Regions from separate parts of the Homo sapiens genome. Here all the other regions are linked to region 2. The links are contacts of gene promoters, found by promoter capture Hi-C in blood cells and fetal thymus (Javierre and others, 2016). All regions are on one chromosome and are shown on one strand. Each heading gives the region's core, a stretch centred on a gene start or on the middle of the fragment in contact. The rest is flanking DNA. Distances are from core to core; before and after follow the strand shown.

The links. The method cuts DNA at HindIII sites, captures the fragments that hold promoters and counts their contacts. A CHiCAGO score of 5 or more calls a contact.
Region 1: the fragment with the promoter of PHKA1 here is called in contact with the fragment with the promoter of RPS4X in region 2 in 1 of 17 cell types (M1 macrophages); the score reaches 9.8 in M1 macrophages.
Region 3: a fragment that was not itself captured here is called in contact with the fragment with the promoter of RPS4X in region 2 in 1 of 17 cell types (neutrophils); the score reaches 5.3 in neutrophils.
Region 4: a fragment that was not itself captured here is called in contact with the fragment with the promoter of RPS4X in region 2 in 2 of 17 cell types (endothelial precursors and erythroblasts); the score reaches 5.3 in endothelial precursors.

Annotation. Positions count from the first base shown.
Region 1 is chrX:72,712,932-72,716,126 of GRCh38, forward strand. PHKA1 (phosphorylase kinase regulatory subunit alpha 1) reads right to left here and starts at 1,375. Exons shown (of 32, transcript NM_002637.4): 1 at 872-1,375; 2 at 1-6. The coding sequence starts at 949. RefSeq lists enhancers at 679-1,663, 1,664-2,652 and a silencer at 1,356-1,505. The HindIII fragment of the contact is 1,799 bases long and covers 186-1,984 here.
Region 2 is chrX:72,275,943-72,279,151 of GRCh38, forward strand. RPS4X (ribosomal protein S4 X-linked) reads right to left here and starts at 1,306. Exons shown (of 7, transcript NM_001007.5): 1 at 1,251-1,306; 2 at 215-292. The coding sequence starts at 1,253. RefSeq lists enhancers at 806-885, 1,056-1,125. The HindIII fragment of the contact is 11,342 bases long and covers 1-3,209 here.
Region 3 is chrX:72,013,763-72,017,402 of GRCh38, forward strand. The region is part of intron 1 of NHSL2 (NHS like 2); the gene reads left to right. Among named protein-coding and RNA genes, the nearest start is that of NHSL2, 100 kb to the left of the region's middle. The HindIII fragment of the contact is 4,070 bases long and covers 1-3,640 here.
Region 4 is chrX:72,563,557-72,566,760 of GRCh38, forward strand. The region is part of intron 4 of HDAC8 (histone deacetylase 8); the gene reads right to left. Among named protein-coding and RNA genes, the nearest start is that of HDAC8, 7.7 kb to the right of the region's middle. The HindIII fragment of the contact is 1,247 bases long and covers 963-2,209 here.

The DNA.
Region 1 (3,195 bases), core at 125-2,624, 440 kb after region 2:
TGGATTCTGCAAGGTCAAGAAAAAGAGGGCAGGAAGGTAACCATAGGTGTTAACATCAGGAAACAGAATCTTCCAAATGGGTTTTTTAGGGACTTTGGTCTTTCTTCTACTTCTCCACTCTTGAGTTTTATAACCTCCTCTTCTTCTGACCTATTGCAGGCAAATGCTATCTTCCCACCTTCCCAAGCTTTACTGAGCTATATTCAACACATTAAAAATTGTGTATATTTAGGGAGTACAACATGATGATTTATGTATTCATTGGAAAATTACCAAAATGACGTTTATTAACACATCTATTACCTCACAGCTACCTTTTTTTTTGGTGTGGTGAGAATACTTAAGATCTACTCTCTTAGTAAATTTCAAGTATACAGTACAGTATGATTAACTACAGTCACCATGCTGCTGTACATCAGATCCCCAGAACTTACTCATCTTATAACTGAAACTTTGTGCCCTTTGCAAATACTATCTTGAATAAGGGGTAAGCGGTGGCTGAAGCCTTTCGAGTCTGAAATGTGGGTATTATTAAAGGCACAATTAAAGGTATTATTAAGTGCATTTATAATGGGTATTATTAAAAGAAAGTTTTACCTTTCTAGTTAGAATGAACTAGCGAACTAGCAATGAAAAACCAGCAGAAAAAATATATAATTAACAGGGGCGGGAGAACCTGCTACAGACAGATACAGATACACACACAAACACACACGCGGAGTTCATGCAAGGTCTCCGTCACACACACACACACACACACACACACACACCCACACACGCACGCACGCACGGAGTTCATCCAAGGTCTCCGTCCAAGCTATGACAAGCTACATCCTCGCTCGGTGATTACGAGAGACACCCCTGCAGTTACCTGATGGCACAGGATGGTCTGTTGCACCAGTCGAGCGTAGCCGTCCAGCCGGACCCCGGAGTTACTCCGGCTCCTCATGGCGACACGTTACTAATTGTCCTCTGAGAAATAGCCCGGGTGCCACCGGAGCCTTCGGTCCCTAAGGAACAAGTATCCAACGCTGCTCCACCCTCGTGGTGGGACGCCTGAACACCAGGCCCCGCAGAGCCCTCCCACCGCTCAGGCCTGGCGCCGCGGATTCCGCGTACCTCTCCGGACTCCGGCGGCCTCAGGGGCCCACCACGCGCCAGCGCTAGCACTGGCTTCCCGCGGTCTAGAGCCCCGCCGCAGCGCCCCAGGCGCCGCTCCTGCCCCCTTAGTCCAGTCCGGCCTCCGCGTGTGACTCCTGCATCCTCCCCTCAACCCCGGGAGACCGCCGCGGCCCACAGCCTCCCGCCCGGCCGCCGCCAACAGGTCAACGACCGCTGCGCCGCCTCCACCTTGCGGGAGACGCGAGCGGGAGGCGGGGCGGGCGCGACTGGTTCTGGCAGCTGCGCGCTGCGACCCCGGGGCTCGCCCGCCCCGGGGCCGAGAATGTGTCACCGTAGGCAATGTGCTTTCCGAGGTTTATTTTCGAAACACCTCAGATCACTATTTCAGTTTTCCACACTTGCTGTGCACACAGGATGTTGGGGAGGCTCTCCTTCGTTCTACAGGACTAGTTTTATAAAGGAACCTACAGTGAACTTCAAAACTGAAAGACACGCTTGTGTTCCAGGTCTGAAGACTTGGATTTCTGGGTCTTTATTGTATTTTAGATTTTGACTTTAAAAGCTCAGATTACACGCCTCACTTCCAGCCAGACCAACCAAACAGGAACTCCCTAGGGTACTTTACTCCTTAGTAACTGGCGAGTCTGCGGGCTTGGGAGGGAGGAGGCAGTGGTGCACTCTGAGGAAGCCAGTGCGGGGAACAGCTGGGAGCTGGCAGCCCCAGAAGGCGGCGTTGGCAGGACTCGAGCTGGAAGAGATCCTATAACTGCTTTGGATGGCTCCCTCGTGCGCACGTAGGTCACAAGGCTGAGGCAACAAATATTCAGCTGAAAATAAAGTGGAGAAGGAAGGCTGCGTAAGAAGCTTGGAGGCCGGGCGCGGTGGCTCACTCCTGTAATCCCAGCACTTTGGGAGGCTGAGGAGGGCAGATCACCTGAAGTCAAGAGTCCGAGACCAGCCTGGCCAACATGGCGGAACCCCATCTCTACTAAAAATACAAAATTAGCCCGGCATGGTGGCGCGCGCCTGTAATCCCAGCTACTCGGGAGGCTGAGGCGGGAAAATCGCTTGAACCCAGGAGGCAGAGGTTGCAGTGAGCCAAGATCGTGCCACTGCACTCTAGCCCAGGCGACAGAGTAAGACTCCGTCTCAAAAAAAATAAAATAAAAATAAAATAATAAAAGCAGCTTGTAGTGGCCGGGTGCGGTGGCTCACGCCTGTAATCCCAGCACTTTGGGAGCCTGAAGTGGGCGGATCACTTGAGGTCAGGAGTTCAAGACCAGCCTGGCCAACATGGAGGAAACCCCCCCCCCCGCTTCCCCCGCCGCCGATACAAATACAAAAATTAGCCGGGCGTGGTGGGGCGCTCCTGTAGTCCCAGCTACTCGGGAAGCTGAGGCAGGATAATCGCTTGAACCCTGGAAGTGGAGGTTGCAGTGAGCCAAGATCGCGTCACTGCACTCCAGCCTGGGAGACAAGAGCGAAACTCCGTTTCAAAAAAAGAAAAAAAAAAGGCAGCAGCTTGCAGATAACGCTGCTTACTGGCCTCGTGGAATCAGTCTGCAACCCTTGGGGCGGCCCGGCTTGGACCCCAGTGCCTTTGCTCCGTTCATCTCCGGCTCCTCCCTCCATCCCCCACCTGTTGCTCTCTGCTTATTCAAACCTTGCAAACCTTTCAAGGCTCTGCTTAAGTACCACCTATTCCCTGAATCGCGGGATAAGAAAATTAGACCGATTGACTTCAAGTTCTAAACCTTCCTTAGCCACCTCATCCAGGCCACGGTGACTTTGCATTTTCGTTTATCTTTTTATTTCTCTCCTCATAAGCTCCCTCCATTCCACCCCAAAACCTCCGCCCAATTTAGCATAGAGGCAGGCACCTAGGAGATGACTAGTAATTTGGTAATGATGATGAGGAAGGAGGGAATGTTTAAGAACTCAAATATGGGACTTTCAGGTTCAACAGCCAGTGATATAGTTAGATATCGTGACACACTTAGAGTTCTCAAGGAGATGCTTTCCATTGCAGTGATTCGCCACGCAAATGCAATGACTGGCAAATAACAAGCCACT
Region 2 (3,209 bases), core at 56-2,555:
TCCTGAGTCCATGTAAATGTACTATGTGGTATGTGGAATAAATGAGGCACAAAAATATTAAATCGATTGGAAGTGGAGGACAGCTAGATAGTATAGCTCCTTCAAGGGCAGAGGAAGCCAAGAATAGATATTCCTCCCCTAGCCTGGTCCCCAAATGAGTCCTGGGAGACACTTAAAAACAGTGGCCACGGAAATATTTATATAAGATACTTACAAACACACCGGTCAATTTATCCAGCATCCAATGCTTTGGAGCTGCCACCCGCTTCAGATGCTTCTTGGGACCACGAGCCTGAAAGTTTTAGATTGCAATGCTGTTAATCAGGTTTCAGAACAGCTTATAAAACCTAGTGTGAAACTAAACTCTTAGTTTAGTTTCATCTTCAGCAAAATGTGGACAATATTAAAGTATAGTGTTCCGATAAAACAGAAACAAACACAGTTATTTAACAAACACCGTGAGATCCATAAGCTGCAACAAGCCTTCTTATTGTAACAGAGAATATTCTTGGTTACTATGTTTCAGAACGTTTACTGATTACTATCTTTCAGAACCTTGCTAAAGTGTTTCCATGTTACTGTTTGAAACTGTATCTGCTTAGAGGTTAGGGTCTTTCAAGAACACCATACTAGTGAAACGCACAGCAACAGAAATGAGCCAGGAGTCTACCTGTGTTTCTAAAGTTTTCACAATTTATTACCGTCTGTTTTTGACACGTATGGAACAAGATTCTGACATCCGCACAAACACATGTGCTGCTCCTTCGTACACTAAAGCCAAAAGCTGACACCAATTTTACTTTAAAAAGAGTAAGGAAGCCTTTTTAATGCTGTGTCCAGATGCTTACCGGCCACGTATGGTAAAGTCAGGCCGTGCCAAAAAGGCAATGACAAAGAAAACCTTTCTCCGCCGGGCACCCCCAGCGCCCACCAACCTCGGGCTCGCAGTCTGAGCTCCTGGCCCAGCCGCGGCTCCGGCCCGGGAGGAAAAGCAGCTTCTCCCGGGATCAGGACGTATGGCCGGGTCAGAAACCGAGGCCTTCCCAACAGCAGCACCAGATCTGCGCCTCCCCAACCCTAGGCCAGCGTTCGCCCTTCGCCCTGGAGCCCGTCCCGGCCTACCACGGAGGCCGTGATCCCTTCGCCTCTGCCCGGCCATCCCCAGTAGGAATCCCGAAACCTCGGGCAGCCCCGGCCGGGGGAGGATGGAGGCGGATACGTCCTAAGAGCTCGCTAACTAAACGGCTTACCATGGCTGCGTTAGGCAAGGAAAGAGGACCTCCGTCTTCCGGTGCGCGTAGAAATTGGGGCTGGAGACTGCGCGCGCCGGATTTTCAGCTGCTCCGCCCAGCTCAGCCCTTTGCTGGCGCGCCGGGACTCTTTCTTGCCATCTGCTGGTGGGAGGTCAGAAGTCCCGAGTTGAGGAACCGCCGCGGAAAGAGGGTGTCTCCTAAGGGCGATTTCCTCCCTCCCCTTTTTCCGCCCTTCCTCCTCCCATATTTGCTGAGCGCCTCTTGTGTGCCTTATTCTGTGCTAGGTGCTGGGAATACAAAGATGAGCTACACAACATCCCTGGCCTCAAGGAGAGTTCAAAGTGAGCTTACTTCCAGTCTCACGTACAGATGATTCTACGCCTGTAATCCCAGCACTTTGGGAGGCCGAGGCGGGCGGATCATGAGGTCAGGAGATCGAGACCATCCTGGCTAACACAGTGAAACCCCGTCTATACTAAAAAAAAATACAAAAAAATTAGCCGGGCATAGTGGCGGGCGCCTGTAGTCCCAGCTACTCGGGAAGCTGAGGCAGGAGAATGGCGTGAACCCCGGAGGTGGAGCTTGCAGTGAGCCGAGATCGCGCCACTGCACTCCAGCCTGGGCGACAGAGCGAGACTCCGTCTCAAAAACAAAACAAAACAAAACAAAACAAAGAACTTGTATATAATCAATAGAATACATTTTAATAAATATTTAATGTTATTTCTTAAACGTATTTTGTCTGTCCCTTTTTTGTGTTCCCTTGAGCCAGCCAGGCAGCCCATACTGAGTTGGGAAGAGCCAACAACGTTTTTAACCCCCTCTTGCTTCTCTGCTTGAACTCTGACATCCTCCCCCTTGCTTCCTGTACAACGCATTTGGCACTTATAGAGACTCAGGGAGGAGAGAGGATATTAGAAATCGTCTGGTTATATCTAACTAAAATGTAGATCTGATCCTGCTTCGAAACTGCCCTTGGCCCTCTGTTTCCTGCCGTAAGGGAGCAGGTCTGAACTTTATCTGGCTCCATTGCTCTCTCTCCCCAATCCCAAACTTCAAAGCTCAAGCCCCACCAAGCTAGTTTGTTCCGAGGGAGTCAGCTCTTTTTGTTTGTTTGTTTGGGAGACAGGGTCTCACTCTGTCACCCAGGCTGTAGTGCATGGCTCACTGCAGCCTCGACAGACAGCCCGGGCTCAAGCGATCCTCTCACTTCAGCCCCCACGAGTAGCTGGGACAACAGGCGCACGCCACTGCACCCAACTAATTTTTTGTAGTTTTATTTTTTTGTAGAGACGGGGTTTCGCCATGTTACCTAGGCTGGTCTCAAACTCCTGGACTCAAGCGATCCGCCCGCCTCGACCTCCCAAAGTGCTGGGATTACAGGCCTGAGCCACTGCGCCTGGCTAGAGTCAGCTCTTTCAAGACTGCTTGTGGACTCGATTCCTTAGCTTGGAACTGCCACAAACAGCCAAACCCCCTTCCTGGGTACCACCTAATCCCACACCTCAGCCTTGGAAATGCACAGTTCAAGTCCCTCTGGTTCTGTGGGCTCGTGGTCCCCTCAGTCAGGGTAAATCCCTCATTCTTGCCCCAGAGGCTTGTGTTCAAACTTGGTGAGGGCACACAGCACATTAGGTAGCAAGGACAAATTTAGTTACCTGGCCTCCACCAAACTGAGCACCTCCAGGATGGAGCCTGCCCTAATTCATCTGGGCAGGCCCCTTGCCACTGAACAGAGAGCTCGGCACTGTGTCCAGCACTTGATAAATACTTGTTGAATGAATAAACGGAGTCAGCATCCCACTTATTGTGCCAAGTCCTACTGTACTATCCCTGAGAGCATCCAGCCTGTGCCTGAATTCTTCCCACCATGAGATCAAGCTCCTAACTCATGAGGTTCCATTTCACAAGTCTCTATCTGTACCATCCACTTTACCCCTCAGCAGTCTGCAGAGG
Region 3 (3,640 bases), core at 395-2,894, 260 kb before region 2:
CCTTTTTGCCCTATTTCTCAGAGTTTTTTTTAACTTATAATAAGTGTTAGATTTTATCAAATGCTTTTTCTGCATTGATTAATATGATCATGTGATTTCTATTAGTTTGTTACACTGATTGTGTAGAATTAGCATACAATTCTTTAAACATTTGGTAGAATTCTCCAGTGAAACCATCTGGACCTGGAGATTTTAAAGGGAGTAGTTTTAAAATTATGAATTTCATGTTTTTAATAGTTATAGGGCTATTCAAATCATCTATTTCATATTTGGTAGATTTGGGAAGTTTATATTTTTCAAGAAATTGGTCTGTTTCATCAAAGTTGTCAAAGCATGTAGCATTGTTCATAGTATTCCCTTATTACCCATTTGATGTCTGAAGGCTCTGTAGTGATATTCATTTCCTTCCTGATATGAGCAATTTGTATGTCTTGCTAGAGGTTTGTCAATCTTACTGATCTTTTCAAAGAAGCAGCTCTTTATTTCATTGATTTTCTCTATTTTTCTATTTTCAATTCTGCTTATTTATGCTGTTATTTTTATTATTTTCTTCCTTCTGTTTGCTTTGGCTTTATTTTGCTCTCCTTGTTCTAGTTACTTGAGGTAGGAACTTAGATGATTGATTTGAGACCTTTTTTCTTTTATAGTATAAGCATTTGGAGCTATAAACTTCTTTTTAAGCATTGCTTTAGTTGCATCTCATAAATTTTTCTATGTTGTATTTTCATTTTGATTCAGTTCAATGTATTTTTAAAATTTATCTTGAAATTTAAATTTTCATATTTGACCCATGGGTTATTTTAAAGTGTGTTGTTTATTTTTCAAGTTTTAGATATTTTCTTATCTTTCTGTTATTGATTTCCAATTTGGTCACAGAATACATTTCATTTGATTTCAATTATTTTAAATTTGTTGACATTTGTTTTATGACACAGGATATGTCTAACATGTTTTGTATTCCATGGGCACTTGAAAAGGATGTGTACTCTTCTGCTGTTGGATGAGATGTTCTATAAATGTCAAATCAAATCCTGTTGTTTGAGGGTGTTGTTGAGTTCCTATATACCCTTGCTGATTTTCTATCTAGTAGGTCTATCCCAGATGCCTGCTCAGCCTTCTCTGACTTCACCCCAGTGGGGAAATTTGGGGCACCTGGTTATAGCTTAGCAAGGGTGAAAAGCTATGTTTTCAACCCCTCCTTTGCTGGTGGGGTTGGGAACGGGACCACATATTTTTTTCTGTGGTATTTGGCTAAAGAATTAGTGTATAAAAATTTCTGTCTTGGTAAGAGAGCATGATTTTTAAAAAATCTGCCCCTGTTGGTATTTTCAGTTTGCAGACTTTTTCAGCTTCAACTCTGGGATATATGAGGCAAAACAAAAATCCAGGGAACTCACCACATGCCGTTCCTTGAGTCCTGAGGTCTCTTGCAGGTGTACATTCTTCTCTCCACCTCCTCTCCAGTCTTTTTGTGTTCATTTTATATATAATGCTCACGGTTTTTTGTTGTGCTTTAGAGGGAGGACCAGGGAAAAGTATGTCATTCCATCTTCCCAGAAGCAGAAGTCCTAACTTATTCTTTTAAAATGTTATGTAACTTTGCAGAGTATGACTTTTATCAGGATTTATTTAACTATTCACCCATTGATGAACTTTTAGGTTGTTTCTTAATTGTGGTGGCTAACACAATCTTTCAATAAACATCCATTCAATAAACATTTGTGTACACGTGCAGGAGTTTCTTCATGATAGATGCTAAGTGGCGTTGCTGGGTAATAGGGGATGCACATTTTCCATGTTAATGGGTGTTGTCCAATTTCTACCCATAATGGCTGTGCTCCACCCAGCAGTGTATGAGAGTAGCAGTTTTGCTCAACTTCTTGACAACACTTGATAATAGTCAGACTTTGAGTTCCGAATGTAATGAGTGAAAGATGATATCTGGTGGTTGTTATCATTTGCCTTTCCTTGATTCCCAGAGGCTGAATATCTTTTCAAATGTCTGTTGGCCATCTGTAACTCTCCTTTTGAATTACCTGTCCATATACTTTGCCCATATTTATTTTGAGTTGTTTACCTTTTTATTGATTTACAGAAATTCTCTATATATTTTTATTGTTCTTTGTCTAATACATACATTTCAAATATATTTCCCCAGTTTATTATTTGTCTTTTAACTTTATTGATGGTGTCTTTTGCCTAAAAAAAAATTATTCTTTTGTGTAGATTCAAATTTGTCAACCACTCCCTCCTGGCTTTTGGGTTGTGTTTGTGTGTTGTTTAAAATGACTTTCTCCATACCAAAGTCACAAATATATAAATCTCTATTTTTCCCATTACAGGTTTCTATTCTTTTTTATATTTAGTTGTTTGAGCTATGTGGAATATGTGTGTGTATAGTATGAGGTAGGGATCTCATTTAATTTTTATCAAATGGAAAGCTAGTTACTTCAGCACTATTCGTTGAATAGTCCATTCTTTCACCACTGACTTATAAATGCAGCTTTTATTATTTTATTTAACACCTTTACATGAGTTGGCTTGAGAGCTCTCTGTTCTCTTTCACTCATTTGTCTACTTCTGTGCCAATGCCACACCCTGTTAATTACTGTAGATTTGATACCTTGTATAATGTCATCCTTCATTTGTTCTTTTCCCCAAAAAAATTGTTTTGGCTCTTCTTATACATATTCTTTTTCACATGGATTTTAGAATCAGTTTGTCAGGTTCTGTGAAAAATTCCTCTGGAGATTTGATTGAAATAGCAATGAGATTATAGATTAATTTAGGGAGACATCTTTTCTCCTTTTCTCCACACAACTTTTTCTCCTTCAGAAAGACCACTGGGGCCTGCACGAAAGATGTTCAGGGGTCAAAGAACCCACATAACCCATCCCCAACACACACACACACAAACACACACACAGAGACACACACATTTGTGTCTGTGTATTTGTGAGGACCTACACTTCAGGCTCTGAGGGTAAATATTTATTATAAACAGAGGCTCTGGACACTTGCTCTGCTGTTCAGTGGTACTTCCAAAGTAGGGGCAACTCTTCCTTTTCCTGATCACAAACAAACCAACCCACCAAAACTCTGGCTTGATTACATACCTTGTTGAACTTCACAGAAGGGAGTGAAGAGTGGACCAAGTAGAGAAGCAGCATATGGTAACATTAGGAGCCAGTGGGGCTGTGCTGTTTTATCCAGGAGAGCCCAGGGTGACAGCAAGTTATCATGAATGGTGGAGGATGGGAAGTACCAGAAATTAGGAGTGGCCCCTGTTCCATGCTGGTGTCTGTGGGTTGGGGTCCTGTGGAACTAGGAAACAACCCACCCCAGAAGGGTGCACTCATTCATCATGCCCCTCTATATAGGGGAAGACGGGCTGGGTAGCAGGGCCTATTGGGCCTGAATGTTCTGGATAGACCAAATTGTGGGTTCAGAGGAAGTTCTAGCTACCTTTGGGTCCACTGCTGACATAATACTCTCCAGTTCTGTGGAGATTTTGTCTTTGTGGGGTGCTGACACCTGGATACATTACCCTTCTACAATACAGCCATGCTACCTGCCCAGTGGTGTGTCCCTTCAATGTTGCCAGCTGGCAGCAGGTGCTCGCAGCCAGCTGCACAGGTGT
Region 4 (3,204 bases), core at 336-2,835, 290 kb after region 2:
ATAAATAAATAAAAACAAAAAGCTTTTGCACAGAAGAAAAACAGTAAAACAATAGGATAATATTCTAAGGAGTAGATTCACCATTCCTTTATTGCTAGGCATTCATGTTATTTTAGTTTTTAAAATTTTATAAATAACACTGATAAATACCTTCATGAAAATAGTTTGTTTCCCATATTTAAAAAAAAAATTAGGCCACATTCCCAGAAGTAAGATTACCTGATCAAAGGGCATTAATACACATTGGCTACCAAAATGCTTTCTTCCAAACCACACTCACTAGGAAACTGAGTACCATCTTTTTCAATTCTGTTAAATTTAGGCTTAAAAAGTGGTGGCTCATGCCTGTAATCCCAGCACCTTGGGAGGCCGAGGCAGGCAGATCATGAGGTCAGGAGTTCGAGACCAGCCTGACCAACACGGTGAAACCCCGTCTCTACTAAAAATAAAAAAATTAGCCGGGCATGGTGGCACGCGCCTGTAATCCCAGCTACTCAAGAGGCTGAGGCAGGAGAATCGCTTGAACCCGGGAGGCAGAGGATGCAGTGAGCCGAGATCACACCATTGCACTCCAGCCTGGATGACAGAGCCGAGATTCTGTCTCAAAAAAAAGAGGCTTACCTAATGGTTTTAATTTACATTTCTTTGATTAGTAGTGATGAACATTTTCCAATGTTTTCCAGTTGTCCTTAAACTCCTTTGTAAATTGTCTATTCGTGTTCTTTGTGCAGATTTCTTCTTATACATTATATTGTAGGAGTGGGTTAGATAATACAAGCCTATTACACTTTGTCATATTTATGATACATAGGCTTTTTCAGTCTGTGTTTAGATTTTGAAAATAGCCAAAAAACCTTTTAAAAGTTATTTTGGTTTTAAAATTTTGTACAGTCGGGTTTGATCTTTTCCTTTGTGATTTTAAAAAATTACTTTCTAAGCTTAGAAAATTCTTCCCCTTTAGAAGCTTGATAAATATCCATTCACTCTAGTGTTTAAAATTTGCTTTTTTAAATATTTAACTTTTCAATCTAGCTGTCACTCATTTTAGTTTATTACAGTAGATGAGGGTATAATGGTACAAGCTGTCACAATACCATTCATTTACTCAACAGACCTTTCAACTCCCATTCACTTGCAATGCATCCTTTGTAATAGATTAAATTCTATATAATTGGTCTCTTTGTTGGGGTGGGGGGTGTACTATAACCTATCTGTCTAATTTTTGTACCAGTGTTTTCATTACTGTAGTTTTGGATGCTTAATATCTAATAGTATTAGTCCTTCGTTACTCTTCTTTTGTAGAATATTCTTTGAAAATCATCCTTTTTTAGCTTTCAAATGCAATTATTTGCTGTCTTACTCCTAAGATATAAATTTCTTGCAGGTAGAATTGGTTTATTTCCTTAGAATAGATTGCCAAGAATATTGTTACTGGCCCAACTGGTATGAACATTTTTTCCCATTCTTAACACTTCCAAGGTTTTCAAAAGGGGTTGTATTAATTTCACTGTAATCCTTCTACCACCTGGATATTTTGAAATAAAGAATCTTTTTCAAACTTGGTAGGGGAAACAATATATCTTGCTTCAATTTCTATATCTCTGCTTACTGGTGATGATAAACATACATTTGACATGTAGTAGGTGCCTAATCAATGCTTGTTCAATGAATAAATGGCATGTATGAATCTGTACATATATTTGCAGATGGGAAGTTTAAGCAAATATTGTGATTATAATAGGTAAATGTTGGCTAGATGTAAGTTTGTGGCCTAAATGCCTGTAGTCCATCTACAGAGAGGTTCTAGTTATGCCAAGAACACCTTGGAATTCAGACCTAAACTGGGGCAATCTCTAGAGACTCTGTAATTTATATTTATCACAGGCATGTCCGTTTCCATGCAGGATCAGCTGAAAGATGTCTACAACAGTTAAGGCGATATATGTGGGTATCCCCATGTCTGTGTGCAGCCCAGAAGCAGTCGTGATTGGGTCAAGACAGAGTGTACTTCCTTTGGCAGCAAAACAGTAATAAGAAGCAGAGTACTCCACTGGAAAATGACCCAGGCCCTAGTAGGCCTTCTGCAGTTAATTTAATTGCATAATAAACTGGATGTCATTCATAGAAGCAAGCCTTTTCTATGAAGCCACACTACTTTTCTTCTCAACTTGCCAAGCCCAAGAGGACCTAGAAGTCTTTCGTTCAGAGAAGCTTAGCTTTCTCCTTTCACTCTGCACCTGGGAGGGGAGAGGGTCATTTTTTTTCTCCTAGCAGTCATTGTCTTTATTTTGAATTTAAAAAAAAGGCAGGCGGTGTGCAGTGGCTGTCATGTGTAATGCCAGCACTTTGGGAGGCCAAGGTGGGAGGATCACTTGAGGCCAGGAATTTGAGACCAGCCTGGGCAACATAGCAAGACCTCATCTCTACAAAAAATACAAAAATTATCCAAGCATGGTGGCACGTGCCTGTAGTCCTAGCTACCTAGAAGGCTGAGGTGGGCAGATCCCTTGAACCCAGGAGTTCGAGACTGCAGTGAGCTATGATTGCACCACTGCACTCCAGCCTTGGTGACAGAGAGAGACTCTGTCTCGAAAAAAACAAAACAAGAAAGAAAGAAAGAGGCCAGGTGTGGTGGCACATACCTGTAATGCCAGCACCTTGGGAGGCTGAGGATGGAGGATCCCTTGAGCCCAGGAGTTCAAGATCAGCCTGGGCAACATAGGGAGACATTGTCTTTATTAAAAAACAAAAAACAAAAAACAAACAAACAAACAAACAAAGCAAGAAAAAAGCAAGCAGGCAAGCAAGCAAAAGCTAACAAAAGGCAGCTTGTCTCTGTTTTTAAAACCATGTAAGACTCATTACTAAAACATTGGTTTCCTTTGCTGTGTTGCCCAACTAGTAAATTCTAGCAGTAAACTTTTTCAAGGACTTCCTTGGCCACAAAATCTGTCAATTTGATGGAAAAAATTCTGTTATTATCTTAACCTGCATATGCTGAAGTTGTGCTGTGTTTTATTCTGAAAAACAAAGTGTTGTTTTCTCTTGACCTAAGAGCACCTAAGGTCACGGTTGATTGCATGAACAATTGATTCCTGAGTGAGGCATTGGCAGTTACTACCACAGTGGCTTCATTTCTCTCAGACAGAGGATCGATAAATTCAGAGTTTAAAAAATCCTTCTTCTTCAATGTGGATTAAGTAC